Linked DNA regions of Homo sapiens: all the other regions are linked to region 6. The links are contacts of gene promoters, found by promoter capture Hi-C in blood cells and fetal thymus (Javierre and others, 2016). All regions are on one chromosome and are shown on one strand. The core of a region is centred on a gene start or on the middle of the fragment in contact, and the rest is flanking DNA. Distances in the headings are between cores, read along the strand shown. Region 1 has its middle 32 kb from the start of THEMIS. Region 2 overlaps THEMIS (thymocyte selection associated). Region 3 has its middle 13 kb from the start of THEMIS. Region 4 overlaps THEMIS (thymocyte selection associated). Region 5 overlaps THEMIS (thymocyte selection associated). Region 6 holds the start of PTPRK (protein tyrosine phosphatase receptor type K). Region 7 overlaps THEMIS (thymocyte selection associated).

What was found. The method cuts DNA at HindIII sites, captures the fragments that hold promoters and counts their contacts. A CHiCAGO score of 5 or more calls a contact.
Region 1: a contact is called between a fragment that was not itself captured here and the fragment with the promoter of PTPRK in region 6, in 2 of 17 cell types (fetal thymus and naive CD4 T cells). The highest score is 8.8, in fetal thymus.
Region 2: a fragment that was not itself captured here is called in contact with the fragment with the promoter of PTPRK in region 6 in 1 of 17 cell types (fetal thymus); the score reaches 16.7 in fetal thymus.
Region 3: a fragment that was not itself captured here is called in contact with the fragment with the promoter of PTPRK in region 6 in 1 of 17 cell types (fetal thymus); the score reaches 12.6 in fetal thymus.
Region 4: a contact is called between a fragment that was not itself captured here and the fragment with the promoter of PTPRK in region 6, in 3 of 17 cell types (fetal thymus, non-activated CD4 T cells and total CD8 T cells). The highest score is 9.9, in fetal thymus.
Region 5: a contact is called between a fragment that was not itself captured here and the fragment with the promoter of PTPRK in region 6, in 8 of 17 cell types (fetal thymus, naive CD4 T cells, naive CD8 T cells and 5 more). The highest score is 23.1, in fetal thymus.
Region 7: a contact is called between a fragment that was not itself captured here and the fragment with the promoter of PTPRK in region 6, in 1 of 17 cell types (fetal thymus). The highest score is 18.2, in fetal thymus.

The regions. Positions count from the first base shown.
Region 1 is chr6:127,931,878-127,934,577 of GRCh38, forward strand. No RefSeq gene overlaps it. Among named protein-coding and RNA genes, the nearest start is that of THEMIS, 32 kb to the left of the region's middle. The HindIII fragment of the contact is 1,446 bases long and covers 727-2,172 here.
Region 2 is chr6:127,895,491-127,898,190 of GRCh38, forward strand. The region is part of intron 1 of THEMIS (thymocyte selection associated); the gene reads right to left. Among named protein-coding and RNA genes, the nearest start is that of THEMIS, 4.2 kb to the right of the region's middle. The HindIII fragment of the contact is 7,514 bases long and covers 1-2,700 here.
Region 3 is chr6:127,912,326-127,915,168 of GRCh38, forward strand. It overlaps a transcript of THEMIS not described here. Among named protein-coding and RNA genes, the nearest start is that of THEMIS, 13 kb to the left of the region's middle. The HindIII fragment of the contact is 2,565 bases long and covers 252-2,816 here.
Region 4 is chr6:127,718,844-127,721,670 of GRCh38, forward strand. THEMIS (thymocyte selection associated) reads right to left here. Exons shown (of 6, transcript NM_001010923.3): 5 at 845-980. Among named protein-coding and RNA genes, the nearest start is that of LINC02536, 56 kb to the left of the region's middle. The HindIII fragment of the contact is 619 bases long and covers 1,253-1,871 here.
Region 5 is chr6:127,858,447-127,861,146 of GRCh38, forward strand. All of the region lies in intron 1 of THEMIS (thymocyte selection associated), which reads right to left. Among named protein-coding and RNA genes, the nearest start is that of THEMIS, 41 kb to the right of the region's middle. The HindIII fragment of the contact is 1,035 bases long and covers 804-1,838 here.
Region 6 is chr6:128,519,259-128,521,988 of GRCh38, forward strand. PTPRK (protein tyrosine phosphatase receptor type K) reads right to left here and starts at 1,341. Exons shown (of 30, transcript NM_002844.4): 1 at 1,001-1,341. The coding sequence starts at 1,100. RefSeq lists enhancers at 515-1,108, 1,109-1,703. The HindIII fragment of the contact is 3,706 bases long and covers 800-2,730 here.
Region 7 is chr6:127,877,583-127,880,282 of GRCh38, forward strand. All of the region lies in intron 1 of THEMIS (thymocyte selection associated), which reads right to left. Among named protein-coding and RNA genes, the nearest start is that of THEMIS, 22 kb to the right of the region's middle. The HindIII fragment of the contact is 3,125 bases long and covers 1-2,700 here.

The sequences.
Region 1 (2,700 bases), core at 200-2,699, 590 kb before region 6:
ATGCACATGTATGTTTATTGTGGCACTATTCACAATAGCAAAGAGTTGGAACCAACCCAAATGTCCAACAATGATAGACTGGATTAAGAAAATGTGGCACATACACACCATTGAATACTATGCAGCCATAAAAAATGATGAGTTCATGTCCTTTGTAGGGACATGGATGAAGCTGGAAACCATCATTCTCAGCAAACTATCGCAAGGACAAAAAACCAAACACCACATGTTCTCACTCATAGGTGGGAATTGAACAATGAGAACACTTGGACACAGGAAGAGGAACATTACACACCAGGGCCTGTTGTGGGGTGGGGGGAGGGGGAGGGATAGCATTAGGAGATATACCTAATGTAAATGATGAGTTAATGGGTGCAGCACACCAACATGGCACATGTATACATATGTAACAAACCTGCACATTGTGCACATGTACCCTAGAACTTAAAGTATGATAAAAAATATATATATATAAACAAAACCAAATATTCATGAGTCCATACTGAGATAAAGAAATGATTGAATAAATAAATAAATAAATAAATAAATAAGGGAAAATAGACAAATATCCCAGGCAGGAGAATTCCAAATATTTTATATGGATATTGACCCCTTCAAGGAGATGGACCTTAATTCCTCACACTTTACATGTGACATGTGCATAATGACTTCCTTCCAAAGGGTACAGTACGGAAAGGTGGGAAAAATTTAGCTTTCCAGTTGAGAAGCTTAGCAAACACTACCTTAATCAGGTAATCAAAGTCAACATCAAAAAGTGATAAGTCATGTGGATAGCATGTACCACTGATATTGATGCAGGATTTTTCTTGGCCACTTTCCCTTCTGGAGACCTCCAGCTGACAAAACCTCTGCCCAGGCCCTCCTTGGGCCCAGTTTCATTGCTGGAGATGCCCAGTCTACTCAGGCCACTGGGCTGCACCTGGCTTGCACTCTAATGCAAATCGCGTGGCCACTGCAACTGCACACTCAGCCCCCTGCATTTGATGGGTCCCAAGTTCTTGTCCCATGTCCAAGAAGAATAAGTTTACACTAACAATTAAAGGGTGAGGAAGGTGGAGAATAGTTTTATTGAGCAGCAAAACAGCTCTCAGTGTAGAGAGGACACGAGGGTTGGCCCCAACTCGAAGTTGGGTGGTCTCACTCTCCTTGTGCCTGGGCCAGGGCTTTTATGGACTCAGAATGGGAAGTGCATGCTAATTCGTTTGTGAGTATGCAAAAAAGGCTAAAACAAAGGCGCCATTCAAAGGTGGCCATGGCAGTGTAAAAAATTAATTAGGGAAAGGTAGGTATATGTAAAATAGGTGAAGGGTGAAGATCAATCAGAGGAAAGCAAGCCAAATGGGAAGAGAGTTTCTCAATCTGGTCTGTGGATTTGACTCATGGCTTGGTTTTCAGGCTTTAAACTGTCTTCAGCTTGAAGGTCAAGGTTCACTGGGGACCCGCCCCATCTGCCTACACATTTGTCTGCCTCCTGCCACTATGAATATGATATGATGTGAATAGCACTTTACCTCTGTAGTCTTCCTCCCAAAATTCCATAACTCCAGTCTAATAATGAGAAGAACATCAGACAAATCACTATTGAGGAACAATCTATAAAATTCTGGACCAGTGCTCCTCAAAACTTTCAAGATCATCAAAAATTTTGTACATCTAAAAAAAATGACAAAGTAAGTGTAATATGGTATCCTGGAACTCTAATAGGACATTAGGAAACAACTAAGATAATCCAAATACAATATAATAATACTGATGTATCAATTTTTTTTTCAGTTGTGACAAATGTGCATACTAACATAATACATTAACAACAGGAGGAATTGGATGTGAAGTATATGAGCATCCTCTGCACTATCTTTGCAATTTTTCTGCAAAACTAAAACTATTCCAAAATTAAAAACGTATTTAAAAGAAAAGCAATTATGGAAGGAACTGAGTACTGTTGACATCATAGAGTTGCTGTACCAATCCTGGCTTGCCTGTCACTGTACTTCTTGCATCATGTGAATTCCTATGTTGTTAAATTACTTTGATAGAATATTCTAATTCTCCCTGTTAGAGCAAAGCAATGATAAATGAATATACTGAGTCTCAGAGGTGTGAGAAGAGAATGACAGGACTGAAAAAAAGGAAGAGGCATAGAAAAAACTAAGCTTTTTCAGAAGCAAGGCCATTGTCTCATTTACCCAGATTCTAATGTCATAATTATGACTAAGTTACGCTTTTTTTTAAACTGAAAGAAGTAGTCACTTTCCACAGTTAAAGAAAAACTCTAATTGTTGTCTGTTGTATTATTAAACATGATATGAAAAAACATGAAGATTAGAATCTAGAGATATTTGGAGGTGGCAAATGGGGTTCGCTGAGTTATTCTTGTTTGTCAATCTTGAAGCCCTTACTATCTGGAGAGCAAAAAGAGGTGATGAACCCTGCTGTTTGTTTGCTTATCTTTGAGATATTATGCATCTCTAAACAGGAGCTACAGAATTCTCTAAACAGGAGCTACAGAGGCCCAGTTCATGAGTGGATGTCTCATGAGACTCCCCAGAAAGGGTCTAGGCCCCTCTTGCTGTTTGGGTGGTTCAACCAAGGTCAAGAATGCCACATTCAAATCATCACTTAAAGAAGCAAAGAAATGAGCTTAAGTTAGAAACAAGATACCTCTATCTGAAGGGAAGT
Region 2 (2,700 bases), core at 114-2,613, 620 kb before region 6:
TCAATGGGAAAACAGACAAAATACGATCTCAATATAGCAATATATATATACACATGATATAAGTATGTGTGTGTGCATTCTAGGAACTAGCCTAGGATACATAAGAACTCTATAGAGACACTTTTTTAAACTGTGATAAATTATGTAGAAGATATTTTATTCTCTTGTTTAAATGAGAGATAAACTATGCTCATGGATAAAAAGACTTTACTATTAAAAAATTGAAGTCATAATTTAAAACATTTCTATATTAGAAATCTCAGCTCAGGAGGCCTTCATTGAAAATTCTACTAAATATTTAAATAAGCGATAACACCAAAGTTACATAAAATCTTTAGGAAAATAACAAAAGACTCCAACCAAGAAGTTCCGTAAGTTCAACTAACTTGATAATAAAGCCTGGCTAGGATATTACAAAAAAATAAAAACTATAAGCCAATATTATTCCCTAAAAGAGATACAAACATTCTAACAAAAAAAAATAGTAAGCCAAATTCAGTGAAATATGACCCCATTGGTTGTGTTCCACAATTAAAAGCATGTTTAACACTTTTTAATGTAAAAAAAACTATGTAATTATCATAAAAGTTACAAAAAGAATATTTGATAAATGTCAAATATATATTCAAGTTTTTAAAACCTGTTAGAAAACTAGAACTAATTTAACCTAAAACAAACATCATGAATGGTGGATTACTGAAAATTGCTCTCAGTGGTCATGAATGAAATACAGAGATCTTTTTTTTATCATTACCTCTATTCAGTATTATAGTAGAAGCAAAATCCATCAATATTCACAGACAATGCAAATGTACACATAACATATACAAAATGTTAAAGATATATTCTTAAAATTCAATAAGTACAACAAAGAGAAAATGATTTTAAAAATACCATTTAAAATGGCATGAAAAAATCAAATAACTAAGAATAAATCTGAAAAAATACAAGATCTGTACAAAAAATTATAAAATGTTATTGACAGAAATGAAATAGACTTAAATAACTAAAGAGCTATACCAGATTAGTGGGTCAGAAGACTTAATTTAAAATGATGCCAATTTTCTCCAAACCAAAGCACAGCTAATCAAAATTCCAGGAGGACTTTTGAGGAAGTTGATAAGTTAATTCTAAAATGTATGTGAAAATTCAAAGTGCTAAACTTAAAGAGGAATAATAAATTGAGAGAACTTGTTCTAAAGCAGTAGTTATCAAATTTGGCTGTGTGTTATAATCATCAGGAAGATTTTCAAAAACTGATGGTGATGCCTTACCTTTTACATAATTAAATCTTTACCTCTTGAGGAGAAACCTAGGCATTTATATTTTAAAATCAATCCAGGTATTTTTATTTCACAACCAAGTTTGAGAACCATGGCTCTGTAGCATATTATTAAATATAATCTAATAGAAAGTATATATTAGATATTGCATATCCACATTATTTAAGACAGGAAAAATTGATGTAAGGATAGCAAGTAGATGAATAGAACAGCATAAAAGGGAAAAGACCCAGGCATGTATGGACACTATTTCTGAGTAAGGTTAACAGAGTAAGATGATAGAGAAAAGGCAGCTTTTCAATAAATGTCACTGCACCAATTGACTCTGTAGAAGAGAAAAATAAATATTGCTCTCAACTTCAAACCATATACAAAAACATAAACCCAGATAGACTACAGATCTGAAGGTGAGGGTAAACAATAGGATTTCTAGAAGATAATACATATTTTCATGAACTTAGGGTAAAGAAAAAAATTGTTGACAACACAGAAAAAGGAAAATATAAACTGACTACACTAACACGAAAGTGGAAAACTTTCGTCCATTAAAAGACACAATTTTGAAAATAAAATATGAAACTATAGACTAAGAAAGTAATTTGCAACACAGAAAATTGACAAAGAGTAAATATCCCAAATATATATATACACATAAACTCCATCAAATCAATAACAAAAATGTATAAAATTCAACAGAAAAATGAGCAAGAAATATAAACCACCTCTGCAAAAAAGAGTATTTCCAAAAATCCAAGAAATATATGAAAAGGTGCTCAATCTTATTAGTCATCAAGGAGATGAAAACTAAAACCATGAGCTACCACTATACTCTTGCCAGAATGACTAAAATTAAGAAGACTGATAATATCGTGTTACTAAGCATATGAGTTAATTGGAACACAAATATACTGCTTGTAGGAAAGTAAATTGGGTTACTTAAGAAACTTGCTTTTCATTAGCTTCCAAGGGTGAATGTACACACACAATATGACATAGTAATCCTACTTACTTTTATGCCCTACTTAATGCATATACACGTAGGCACACATGTACAAGAATTTTCATGACAAAATTACTGGAAACTCCAAGCCAGAAATAATCCAAATGCCTATTGGCAGTAGAATTAATACATAAATTGTAGTATATTCATCTAATGGAATAACATACACTGAAAATGAATGAACTATATATAAAACAGCATGGATTAGTTTCACAAATATAATGTTAAACAGATATACCAACCAGAAAAGAATACATACTGTAATTTTCCATTTATGTAAGGGTCATAAATGGACAAAAGTCATGATAGTGGTTACACTTGAGGGAGATAGTATATAATGACTGAGAAAGAGCACAGGATAGGGCTTCTGGAATACTTGGAATTTTCTATTTCTGGACCAGGGTGGCAGTTACATGA
Region 3 (2,843 bases), core at 284-2,783, 610 kb before region 6:
AGTGGAGGGAACTTGCCTTGTTTCAGATGAGGCCGAAACTGCTATTGCAAAATTGTAACTGAGACAGTGAAAGAGATTTGACTAACTCCATCTTGCTTCTAACCTCCAAGCTGTCCTTGTTCATTCCTGGGAGCAGGCTGAGTTAACTTTGGGAAGAAATTTGGAAGTCAATCTGCATCTTACTCAAGTTCTGAGTCACATATGTAGGCTGAGATAATTGAAGATCTGTGTAAGTTACCTTGTTATTTCCAAGCTTCCATATTATTTTAGACCCAGGGATGACTTGTAACCAGAATTGGTCTGAGAAGTGCCATGAGAAACCCAAACCTGTCTTTGAGAATTCTCAAACCTCTTAATCTGGAATATGACCTACTTCTATGGCCTAACTTAAATTATTAATACACATAATACACAACTGAAAAAAGTTTAAAGGTGTTAAGCAAATGTAAGAGGAAAATCTATAATCTTCCTGAAAATATGACAAATTTTGTATACCTGTTTGTATTTTATAATAGTGCCTGTAGGCCAAATGTTGTTTGTTTTGCCTTACAAAGTCCAACTGCTTTCATGTTGAAGTTAAAACCTCCAGATCTTAGCCTGAATTCCAATGCTTCTACCATGAATCTTCTCGTCTAAGCAAAGTGGATGACTTGCTCTTCCAGATCTGTATCCCTAATGCAGTGAGAAAAGATTGTTATGAATTACTTTTCTCAGGGGTCTGACTAGGATATTTTTCCATGCCTGAATGACATCAGTGGCCAAGTGAACGTAATGCTCTGCTGGCCAGATTAGGTCACAGGACCATTACGACATTGGACATGAAATGCCTGGACATAGAGCAGAGCATCAAGTAATCCCTCATAAAAGAGGAAATAGATACTGGATGGAAAAAAAAAGTCTCTTATACTCATCACTTAAGTTCTAGTTCCTTTACCTCTATGAAGCCTTTTCTAATCTTTATATTATTTTCACAATTCTCTCTTCCTTTTCAGTTTCCATTCGCTGAATATTTTTTATGTGTCCATTTGCATGCTTTTTCCTTTGTTCCTGAATTCTACATTTAGGGAAAGGAGATTTGGGTCTACTTTGATTGGATGCACTCAATAGCTCCAAATACCTTCACCAGCACTATGCTAAGAAATGTTTTCAAAAAAAACAAATGAATGGACTTGACATATTTGTTGTATTTAATTGAATAATCTGAACCTGAACCAGGTTAAATTCTACCTACATTCTTACCTTCTCCTCCCCAAGATGACAGAATAGAATCATGACCAGACCTGGACACAGGCCAATGTTAGAGTGTTTGTCTCACTGAGAGATTTCTCCGTTGAAGTAAACTGTAAATTCAGGCTTTTAATCACCAAAGCATTATTTAATCTGTATTTGAAGTAAATATGAACTTCATAAATAAGCTGAATATTTTTCTCTTGTATAACATTTTACAGCTCATGCATTAGAATTCAATCACAAGTACTCTATTTTAGAATACCAGTATTGATTGGAAATGATGATCAAGGACTGTGTGCTTGCTAGAACTTAATTGGGAGAAAATATTGCTCCTAAACTCCTTAGCAAACAGCACATAAAATGGTGGAGGCCAAGTCTTATACAGGTTGAGAATTTATCTGATATGCTTGGGACAAAAAATGATTCAGATTCTTTTAAGATTTTGGAATATTTCCATATACATAATGAAATATCTTGGGGATGGGGCCCAAGTTTAAATACAAAGTTTATTTATGTTTTGTAGACACCTTATACACATAACCTGAATGTAATTTTATACAATATTTTTAATAATTTTGTGCATGAAACAAAGTTTTGAATGAGTTTTGACTTCAACATGAGGCTAGACTTGTAATTTTCCACTGTGTTGTCATGTTGGTGCTCAAAAAGTTTCAGATTTTGGAGCATTTTGGATTTTTGGATTTGCAGATCAGAAATGCTCAACCTGTATTGCTCTCCTGGAAACGCATGTCTGTGAAGATACTAAGAAAAACATAGTTTTTCTTTTTCTTGCCACTTTGTAAATTCCTAAGGGACGATTTCATTATGAAACATAGTCATGTGTCACTTAACAATGAGATATGTTCTGAGAAATGCATCCTCAGGCAATTTCATTGTTGCGTTAATCATAGAGTGTGCTTACACAAACCTAGGTGTGTACTTTTACTGCACACCTAGGCCATCAGGTATAGCCTATTGCTCCTAGGCTACAAGCCTGTATAGCATGTTACTGTCTGAATGATGTAGGCAACTGTAACACAGTGGTGTTTTTGTGTCTAGACATATCTAAACATAGAAAAAGGCACAGTGTAAACATGGTATTATAATCTTAAGGGACTACCATCACATATGTAGTCCATCGTTGACCAAACATTAATATAAGGAATGAAAGGAACTTTCAAATGTATGTAAATGACATTTGCCGCCTTTGTTCCCACTTTACAGTAAAGTTACATGCTTTTCTACAGTAGAGCCAGGAGGTAACTATATAATCTTCATAAAGTTCTATTTTGTTTGAAACAAAGTAATATTACAGATAAAGTGCCAAGTAAAATATTTTATGTGTGCCTGCTATGGTTATCACAACAGTAATTGACCAGAAACACACTTTGACCTGATTTTACACATTACTAGTGAATCTGAAAAGCTGCTACTTATTGATATTGAACCATTTTTAGAATCAAGTTTATATAATTTTAATCTTACACAGATTGAGGTCCCATTGTAACAGTTCGTCATTGATGGATCCATTTTTGTCCTATTTTTAGGAAATTTACTTTTAGAAGAACCACAGAAAACACTTTTGAAGCTTTTACTGGGGTGTGGAAGGAGGT
Region 4 (2,827 bases), core at 312-2,811, 800 kb before region 6:
TAAGCTAACTACATGAAAGAACCCAGATTGTGCAGACAGGGTTTGGAGCAGAAACACTTCAGAGACTTTATCTAGTATTTTGACTTTTATATGTCCTTGGAGAAGAAAGCATGCTAGCTACAAAACCAAATAAGGAGGAGAAAGGAGCAAACCGTATGCTTAAGAATAATTACAGTTTCAATTTTTGTATGAACTAAATGTGAAGTTTCAAAGATAAAGTGTAATAGAAATTGAGGGGGTTTGGTGTGTCTAAAATATTGGCAAGAAACAAACTTCTTATTTCCCTTGCTAGCTCATCCCAAATTTCTGCCATATGGAAGTTAGTCTGGGTAGCTTAATTGAATGCTATCAACTCCTCCACAAGTCCGTTTGCTTTTGTTTTGCACTCAGTAGAGATGAAAAATATCAGATCACAATCTCTATAAACTAAACCATCATAATTCAAGCTTGCATTCAGTGACTTATCTGACGCTTCTTTAAATTTAAAACATCTCAATTATTTTAACCTCTTTTCAAGACAGTAATTCTTCTTGTTCATTGTTCCAGCAAAAATATTATTATCACAACAATACAAGTAATCTTGAAATATTTCATTGCCATGAAAACCATAAATGAGGTGAAAAATCTAATAGTGGAAAACAATAAACATTACTATTATTATTGTGAGTGTTCAATATCATGCTTCACATAAATCTTCATTTCAATGTGATTGGCAGAGCAGGGTGATCACTTGGGCTGAGTCATATATTCCAAATAAAATAATAGTAAGAATCTGTCCATTGCACCTTTGTCATGTGGACAGTTAAACCACCGTGGTTTAACTGACCTATAGTCACATCAGTACCTGCTATTGCTGTGGCCCCACGGTTGCTCCTTTCTTTCTCTTCATCCACCAAATCATTCTGACTACCAATCAGTACTTTTGAATCCAGGCCAGCTTGATTTGGGTGAAGTTTCTTGGTTATGTCTACGTGATGACGCTGAAATGACACAGGTCACAAGTAAATTATCAGTCCAAAATAAATGCTTCATAGAGATATGAAAGATTTATCACATGGCAATTCATTTCTGTATGTCTGAAACAGAACATTTGACATGTCAAAGCAAGCTACAAATTATATGTTCATCAATATATTTTGGAAACTGAGGTGTACAATTTTTGAAGCAATCTAAGTAACTAGAATAAGAAGTCATTTTAGGCATAGAAAACCATCTGCAAAGACTATTTGTGTATATTACTTTCTTCTTGTGAAGCTTATAAAATATTTTTCATTTAGAAAATTTTTACTTAGTTTTTATTATTATAGTTAACTAATCCAGCACTTCATTATATATTACATAATTACATATTATATAATCAAAAGCAGATTTCATTTCTGTATCATCTGTACTCTTTATATAAAACAAATCATAACATCTACTATAAATTAAACCACATTTTTAATCAGCATTATGCAAATTTGACAAAGCTCCTTTAGTCAATTTCAGAGTAATAATTCATCATAACAATGAATTATTAAGGCACAGCATCAATGGTCCCTATAACTCATCTCACATGTAAGAGATGTCACAGCATTTGACATTATACTGACACACTGTATGCTTCAAAGAATCATCAGATGGGAACAAAAAGTGAAGACTTCAATTGGAAATTAAACTTCCAGTACTTAATTAATTCATACCCAAGTCCAGACTAGAAGTTTGTCAAATTGAATAAGATTACAGAATATGTGAAGATTCTCAGCGTAAATATTAGCTAATCAATTATGGCCATTCAGGCTAGCCATGTTGGCTCACTAAAGGATAGTATAATGGACAACTTTCCTGTAAAGTTTCTCCTGTAGACCATATATTGCATGAAATTCATTAAAAGCTTGATTTTATAAAATCAACCACTTTTAAAGCTTGAGAAAGGCCAATAAGGAAATTAGGCTTTAGAATGATTAAATAATTCACTTGAGTTAACAAAATGAACAGTGCTGAGCCTTACGATATGAATCCTGAACTTTGGACAGTGTTCTTCATGATTGATTTCTTAAGATTTTTAATGTGGTGGACTGGATGTATGGATAGCCCTCATTCTTCACCCATCTCTGTATCCATGTCCTTTCTATAGAATTTTGCAGGGCCCTCCTACTCTGACTTTTGGCCTATCAATGTGGCTTCTTCTGGCCCAATAGGATATTGACACAGAGGCTTGAAAGAGGCTTGCACAATTGTTTTTGCTCATTCCTTAACTTCCACTATGCCATGAGGCTATGCCTAGACTAGCTGGCTGCAGATTGAACATGAGATGGGCAGAGTTAGGTCACCCCAGTTGTCCAAGCTGAAGCAAACAACAGCCAGAGGAGCCCCAGACGTTTGGGTGAAACCAGTCTAGATCATCTGAGACCAGCTCAAGTCAGATGAATTCCACAGCTTCATGAACTAAATGAATGTGATTTTGGTTGTATGCCATTATGTTTTTCTGGTGGTTATGCAGCATTGTATGCTGACGGATAACTGGTACATTCAACCACCGTCTATCTATAGTATCCCAGATAATGGATGTGGTGTGAGAATACAAATATAACATGACATTCTCTCAGACTCCAAATTATTCAAACACAATTTCTTACATTGCTTATGCAGATAATTAAAATAGAGTGTGGTAAGTCATTTGTAGATATTTCTCAATTCCTTTTCTAATGACCAAGGAAGGGATCCTAGCAATACTACAAAAGACAGCTCAAAAGATCAGTTTGGATGTTGGTATCAACTAGAACTAAACCACCCCACTTGTTTATTTTTAGCTCCTCCACAGTCCACAAAAATATAAGCCCATCAC
Region 5 (2,700 bases), core at 71-2,570, 660 kb before region 6:
GAAAGTTATGTCTATGATAGGTGACAGGGACATATAGCAAAGCTTAAGTCGCTAAAACTGGAAATCTTGTATTTTATTATCACCAATATAATGTGTCTTAAAATATATTTTTTCCTTCTTGATAAGTTAAAATGGTGAATTTTAAAAATATCCAACTTTCATTATCTCAAAACAAACACATAATATGTGTAATTGCTTTTAAAAAAATTGCTGAGATATGTGTCTGAAATATATCTGTGTATATATAGACATACATATTAAAATGGCTTTCATTTCATTTTAACCATAAAACATGTATTTTGAATAAGCAAATCTCGAATCTATTAAATCTTTACAGACTGATTCTATCCAAGTCAAAGCATATGTATTCAGAATAATGCCAAACATCAGAGAAAGCTGGAACAAAGCAGCCTGTTTTCAGTGATCAAACATTGCCCCTGAAGGCTGTAATGAAAGAGCCATGTGCCTTTGAAATCACCTTTTCTGTAATGCTACTTTGCTCAATAAAAACGACACATTAATATCCTTTTATGAGCTCATCCCTTGTTTGACAATCCATATAAGCAATGCTGTGATCACATCAGAACAGCCAAAACAATTGGTTCAATAGATTTTCTTCCATCTTCCCTACAAAGTTAAAAACGTGTGACAGTCAGCAAATAGGAAACTGCATTGGATGTTTCTCCCCTTTACTCAAATGCACTCTCCCTCCATTACTGCCTGCCCTACCACCCCCTGCCACTACACCAGGCCACCCATCCCTTTACATCCTTATTAACTTGTCAAAGTCCAACCAATTCCAAAGCTTCAGCCCATATTTATCATTTTCTTCAAAGCCTTCCTTGATCCCTACACCTAAGTAAGAATTAATTCTCTCCTCTGTGCTCTGATAGCACTTCATGCGTATCTCCATTAAAGCCTTATGTGATTATTATCACTCTTTCAATTGGAGTGTTATGTATATTTTGCAATTTATTATGATTTCCTAGAGAAGAGACATTATCTTAACTATATGTATACCTCCCCCACAGCTAGTAAAACAGTTTTTTTTATCACTTATTAGATGATTAGTGAATGTTGTTATAATTTTGTGTCATTGTAAAATGACAATTAATTGTTGTGAACATAATAGTGGTCCTTCTACATAAGGAGTTTAAAGCATGGTCAAGTCAAAGGTTTTTGCATGGGTTATATCTTTATTTGGTATGTTTGATATCAAATATACAAGTGAAGTATATACAAGCTGACTATGTTGTGAATTCTCTAGACAAGGAGTAATGAGGGTAGTGGTTCTATAATATGAATCTCTACTAGTTAAGTTTGCATAAAGAGGGAGCTCATGTGACCATCTGAGATATATTTTTATAAGCTAGGAAATTATATCTGCAAAGTATGGCTGATAGTGTCTGATAGAACCATATCCACTGGGGTTGCCAGTGGAGATGCAACTTTGCTCATTATAAATAGGTGTGATTATTTTTTGCTTCAGGATAGCACAAATTATCAAGAAGGAGCATCCCTCTAAAGGAAATGTTTAAGTGTAAAACTATTTTATTGGCAATTGTGTACCTAGACATGGCAGTTGATGTGGCATTGAGACCATTATGGTGATAAATTCAATTTTCCAAATGAACCTCTAGATAGGCGACCACAGGAATGAAGTTCAAAAGAGGCCATGGTTGCAATAGACATTTATATGGCCAGTCTTCCACAAAGAGATGGTCTGCATTTCCTGTAAGGCAGAGACAATGTCATTCCCACTCTATGAAGAATGTGTCTAAAAATAAGTGAGCATGATATTTTAATGCAGGGTACATATAAGTAGACACGAAAAAGCAAGCTTTCAGCTTTACTAAGGGTGGATACTCCCAGTTGGACACTAGATATAGCACTAAAGGTACATCTGAGAAATGCTAGGAAATGATCTTTCCAGGCCATAGAGACTCTCTCATCCCCAAAATATCAGTATTAAGAAGGCAAGGCATTGGGATTACATAATAAGAAAAGTTATGGCTGTGCTAAGAACTAAGGTAAAATCTCCCTAACCTCTAAGAATATAGGATTTTTCTCGTGAATTGGGGGTTTAAGTATTATCCAGGAAGTCAAGCCTAAAGACTGAAATATGCAAAAGACTGTAGGAAATGTTGGTGAGTCTTACTTAAAACATCTGAACATGGGGAAGCAATAAAAGTTCCTACAGATTGGAAATGCTGGGGCCTGAGAGCCAAAAATAAATAAATAAATAAATAAAATCAGATTAAATAAGTACTAGGACCAAAACCCAGAAAAGAACAACATTTCAGTCACTCTGAGTGATGTGTAAGAAATTCAGGTGACTAAGTTTCAGTGATAGAAGAAGAATAAATCACTGTTTCGTGCATTAGCTAAAAACGTATTTGTTTAATGGTAAATTTATTAATTTAATAGATTAAATAAAACTGTACTAAGAGGGCTTACAAGTGGTTGTCATGATAGAAGTCATCATTGTGGCTCATTGAGTAAACATTATCAGAGCAAAGGGATTTGAGGGTGTGTGTATGAAATAAATATCCCTCCTGTGTATCCACAGAACACTTATCTATGATTGTGGAACAAATCAGTGACTGTGCATCTTCTGATACTATTATTGATCAAATATTTCCCATATTTCACCCAAATTTTTACCCTCAAAATGACATAAATAATATCATAATTTCATGT
Region 6 (2,730 bases), core at 91-2,590:
GAAGCAACCAACCTACACGAAGGATAACAAAACTGGAGGGGAACAGAGGGCGGGACCGGGAGAGCCAGGGTTCACGGACTTCTCTGAGCGGCTTGACCGAGAACCCCCAGGGCTACAGCGAGACGCTCCACTTGTCTCCTTTTGGGTTCTCCGGCAGAAGGCAGACATTTACAGTCCGCTTCCAGCCCCAGGCCGGATCCGGGGAGCGCGGGGCCAGAGCCCCAGGCCGGATCCGGGGAGCGCGGGGCCAGCCTGGCGGTGGTTTTGCCCGAGGAGCGGGCTCCCACGCGCGAGTCAGGCTTCCTCCACCAGGCGCCCAGACCTCGATGCCCATGAACGCTCAGAGTGGGTCCTTAGAACCGCATTTCAACACATCTTACAGGGCTCCGCCAACACACACACAGAACATGCTCCAAGCAGTGCCCGAGCGCACAGGGCAAGCCCGGGAGCAACCCAGAGCTGGGGGAGGAGAAAAGGGGACTCCGGGAGGGACGGGGAAGTAGTTAGACAATAGTCAGGGGAGGTTATTCCCGGGACAAAAAGCACCTGGCAAAGCGCGCCGAGGTCAGTCCCTTCGAATCTCCACATTTCTGACAATGGCTTCCCAGGGAATTTGTTTAAACACCCAAGTGGCAGACAGCAACAAACCCGCACCACAAGCAACAGAGTGCCGTCACGGGAGTCGTAACTACTTTTTCTTTCTCTCTTCCCCACTAGCCCGGCGCAGGCCACGCGAGACGCCGAAGCCAGCAGGTCCCCACACTCTCCGGCTAGACCGTGCCAGCCTGAGCCCCGAGCAAGCTTCGGAGAGGAACAATGGGTGCCCCGCGTCCCACCTGGCACGAACTCTGGGGACAGCCCTCCCTCTACCCTGTGTTCCCCACCCCCGGACAGAGAGAGCTCCCCACGATCCTTGTCCCCAGCCCTAGCGGGGACCTGGCTCACCCCTCGTGAGCCCAGGACTCCAGGCGTTCGTCGGGGACGCCCCCCGGCCACTCACCTGCGGAGAACTGGCCTTGGGCCGATCCCAGGAGAGGCCAAGGAGAGAGGAGCAAGAGCGCCACAAAAGCAGGCAGCGCCGCCGCCGCAGTCGTATCCATGCCGAGTTTGGGAGAAGTTTCAAGCAGCTTTGCAAAGAGCTGCCGGGGGGATCGCCGCGAAATCCACGACGGAGGAGCGGGCCGGGCCTCGCGGGGTGAGGACGGTGAGAGGACAGCCGCCCGCCCGCCCTTTTTCCTTCTTCGCGGTCGCCAAACTACCTCAGGGGCGAAAGCGTCGCCAGCGTCGCCGGCCGGCCGCGGCGGCAGCTCTCCATGCTCGGCGGAGGCTGCTCCTGTTAGTCAAGAGTTACTTTGCTCGGGGAGGGACGGGGGCGGAGCCGGGGGTGACGTCGCCCCGCGGGCTCCGGGCGCTTCTGAGGAATGCGGGCTCGGGCGCGGCGCCGCCACCGCCTCCTGCCGGAGAGACGCGCGCCAGCCCCGGCCGCGCGCCCCGCGCCGCCTTTGTTCGCAGCCTGGGCCCCGCCGCCAGCCGCTGCTCGGAGGGAGCGAGCGAGAAAGGGGAGCCGGCGCAGCTCGCTGCCCTGTTCCAGAACTCAGAATTTGAGAGGCGAGAGTTCGGTAAGCCGTGCGACCAGACGACCGAGGACGCGCGCAGAGAAACCCCCGCCGTCCGAGGAGAGGCGTCCTGGGGTTCCGTCCCAAGGTGGAGGTCCCCCCGAGCGGTTGCTGATTGAAAGGGGAGTGTGGAAGCGCCCTGAGGAAACACCCGCCTGCCTTGAAAACTCCCCGTTCCTTATTCTTGTAATAAGGAATAAGACACCCCACCCCCATCGAAAACTTGTCCCTTATTCATAGAATAAATAAAACTTGAACCAGAATAAACGATCAGTAACTTTCCAGCGTGAACAGCTGGCGTGTCTCCTTTCTGGTTTATTTGTCATTGGCCAAGTATTTGGATTTACTCTGCTTCACTGACTTTGCTTGTTGCTCTGAAACCCTCCGGCCCCTTTCCAGTTCTCACCTAAGAACTGCATCAGGGCTTATTATCCCTTCCTTGCACCTAGGTCTGGTGTGTGTGTGGTTTTGTTTTTTTTAATATCTAGTAGGTAGTTAAGACATAAGTATTTAACAAAAGGACTTTTACACTGACCATGAAAACAGCTTCTTCGGAATGATTCATCTGGCAGAAAATAATGCTATATTATGACAGTAAAATATTTCACAGTTAACTACTTCAGCAGCTTGAAGTGGTTTCGCCATATGCCACCCTGCCTTACTTCTGTGGTAAGACTGTATGGTGCATACTTTATTCATTTTTGTAAAATGTCACAAAAAATAGGTATGGTCACAATTGAATAACATAATAACTTTGATTCAGAATTTTTATGTGTTATGTACAATTGCTAAAACAATAGTCTGTTGATTGACATCTCTCAGTTTCTCAGACATCTTAGCCTTTGTAAATCAAGACAATGTGAAATTCATTTTAATATAACATTCACATAATTTACCAAGCCACATATTCTTTTAATCAAATATATGCTATTAATGACCAGACTTATGACAGAGCCTGTGGAAACAAAAATGTAATAAATATACACACAAATATATACATATATAAATACATATTATACACACATACATATCAGGCAGAAAAGACTTTTAAAAATTCTATGAGAATAGTAGCCTGCTCATTAGCACACTGACTAGCTCAACCCTTGTCAATTCA
Region 7 (2,700 bases), core at 149-2,648, 640 kb before region 6:
GGCTGGTCGAGGGAGCAGTTGGACACACAACATTTATTAAATTTTCCATCTTATATGCTCACTGTTCGTGGTGCCCCAAAACAATAACAATAGTAGCATCAAAGATCATTGATTGCAGATGATTACAACAAATATACTAATGAAAAAGTTTGAAATACTGCAAGAATTACCAAAATGTGGCACAGAGACACAAAGGGAGAACACATTGGTGGAAAATGGTGCCAATAGAATTGCTCGATACAGGTGTGCCACAATCCTTCAATTTGTTAAAAAAGAAAAAGCAATATTTACTTGTGAAGCACAAAAAAAAATGAAGTATGCCTGTATGCATCTGTTCAAGAGTTTTAACCACAGGGAAAGGATCAGGAAAATGCTAGTTCTCATTTGAGATACACTAATCAGAAATAAAACCCAGGGTGGCTACACAACATGCAAAGACTAATCAAAGGTCCATGCTCTTAAAACAACTACCGCAAATATCACATGCTTTTGTTTCCTATTAATACAGGCTTTGTTAATTAGAATAATGGTTTTTAGTAAGGCTGCTTCATGGGTGAAATCAGTGGTGTTCAAAATGTGTTCATTAGTTGCAAATATAACATAGGCATTCCTGTTCTTGCAAAGTGGTATAAGAATCTTGTGAACCCAACATGGGCCCTATGCTCTACCGTTCCAGCTCAGCAGCTGATTCAAAACAGTTTTGTTACCTGATTCTAACTAGAAGGGTAGCTGAATCCTGCTGCTGAAACACAGTTGCAGAAGTCTCTAATGAACTTTTCAGGCAAGGTACTGTCAGACAGCTTCAAAAGACAGCTGGGACTACATCAAGCTGACACGTGGCCATATAGCTGTTATTATATCTATTTGCAAAAAAAAAATGCTTTTTACATTTGGCAAAATTTGATGTTAGACTTTTTTTGGTTGTACTAGGCCTTCAGGTTTATGGGGTAAGAGACTGATAGCTATCATCTACTTTCAAGAACTGAAGGCTATGAGTATCGACCAAAAATAACCAAATTAAGGTGAATGACAAAATGGATTCTGGTCAGTTGGGACCAAAAGTCATTTTCTCCAGAAAGGTTGGCATGAATTTTTTTCTAGTGACTCTTAATAAATAAGATGAGATTAATACTTCTCAATAAATTAATAAATAGAAATTTCTGAATATTACTGAGCAGTGAGCCTGTGGTTTTCTAAAAACATGATGCTTTCTTGAATAATTCTGCTTTGTCTTTCAAAGGGATCTGAATTAGAAAAGCAACTAGCATGAAGCCCAGCAGTAAAAATAAAATGCTATAGGTCACTTGTCAGATGAATGGCATCTATCAGTAGTTAATTTCCACTGTCAGGTTTTTAATGAATTGCTTATTGTTTCTAGTAAGAAGAGAAATTTCTTAACAGCAGAAATTAAAAATTGTATTCTTGTTTATATCTTTGTGGATTAAAATACTAATTTAAATGGTAAAGCCTCTGTTACAATAAGAAGTAATTTGCTAGATGTCAATTTAGGAAAAAAAATCTTTTTCAAAAGAATGCTATTTCTAATGCACAGAGGAAAATGTTCTCTGAGGTATATTACATGAAAATTTCGGTGTTCTAATTATTGTTGACAGAAACAATATCAATCCAGGAATGATCCTCTAACCTGTTGAGCATATGTTAACAAATAGCATATCTTAAAATGCCTTTGTAACTCTTATGTCTAACTCTGCAAGAGGCTTGGACTTTTTTGAGAGTTAGGGCCATGATGATTGTGTGATCTTTATTGCTCCAAATTCAGCATCCTGACAGGTATTAGGTAGCCACTCAAAGAGTGTCAGCTGGATAAATGAATATTCTTGGACATTCATTTACTCATTGATTATCTGTTTCCTTATATTTAAGTATCATGAAGAAAGATAATTGTTGCTCCTGTTAATATGAAAAGAAAGTTTTATTCTTCTCTTTATTGATAATGGCTGAAATAATTTTCTAAAAATGTGTGTAAATGTCTCTGTAAAATGAGATTAGTTTCAGTGATCTAGAATGCTGTGTCACTCTGAAAAAAAAAAAAGAACAGATTTACCAGAAATGTAGAATATTGCTTTTTTAAAAAATGAGCAAATTATTTGCGGGCAGGGTGTAGAAAAAGAAAGAAAAAAAACGAGGACTTAGTGCAGTCGGGGAAGAAGGATGGAGAAGCTGCCTCTGGCCTTCCGTGAGCTGGAGCTGCTGGACTGGATCCTAACCAAGCTGGTCTTCAACTATTTACAACCCGGCTGCCTAGGCCACTTCCACAGTTTGGTATTTTCCCTACCAGCTCCGGGAAATGCGCCCCCACCTCGGGCACCTGATTTCCTCCCAGCTGCGAAGCCCACCCTGCCCAGACTCCTCCCCCGGGTGTAGCCCAGTCACGCAGGTTACAGCCATGCCGTTTTCCTCCATTTTTTAGGCATGCAATGCATGTACAGTTGATCTGCCACTTTTTAGGTGCCATCTCTATTATTATCCTCTAATTATATTATGTATCTTTTCTTTGAATGAAAAATTTGATGGCTGGGGCTTTTATTTTATATGTTCCCCTTTTCCATGCATCATGTTTCACCACAGCATACAACAGGTGCTCAAAGTAAATTTGCGTCAAACAGTACATTAAAATTATCCAATCTCATTTGTCTAAAGTTAAAAGGAGGATGGAAGGGAGGGAAAAATGGAGGGCAA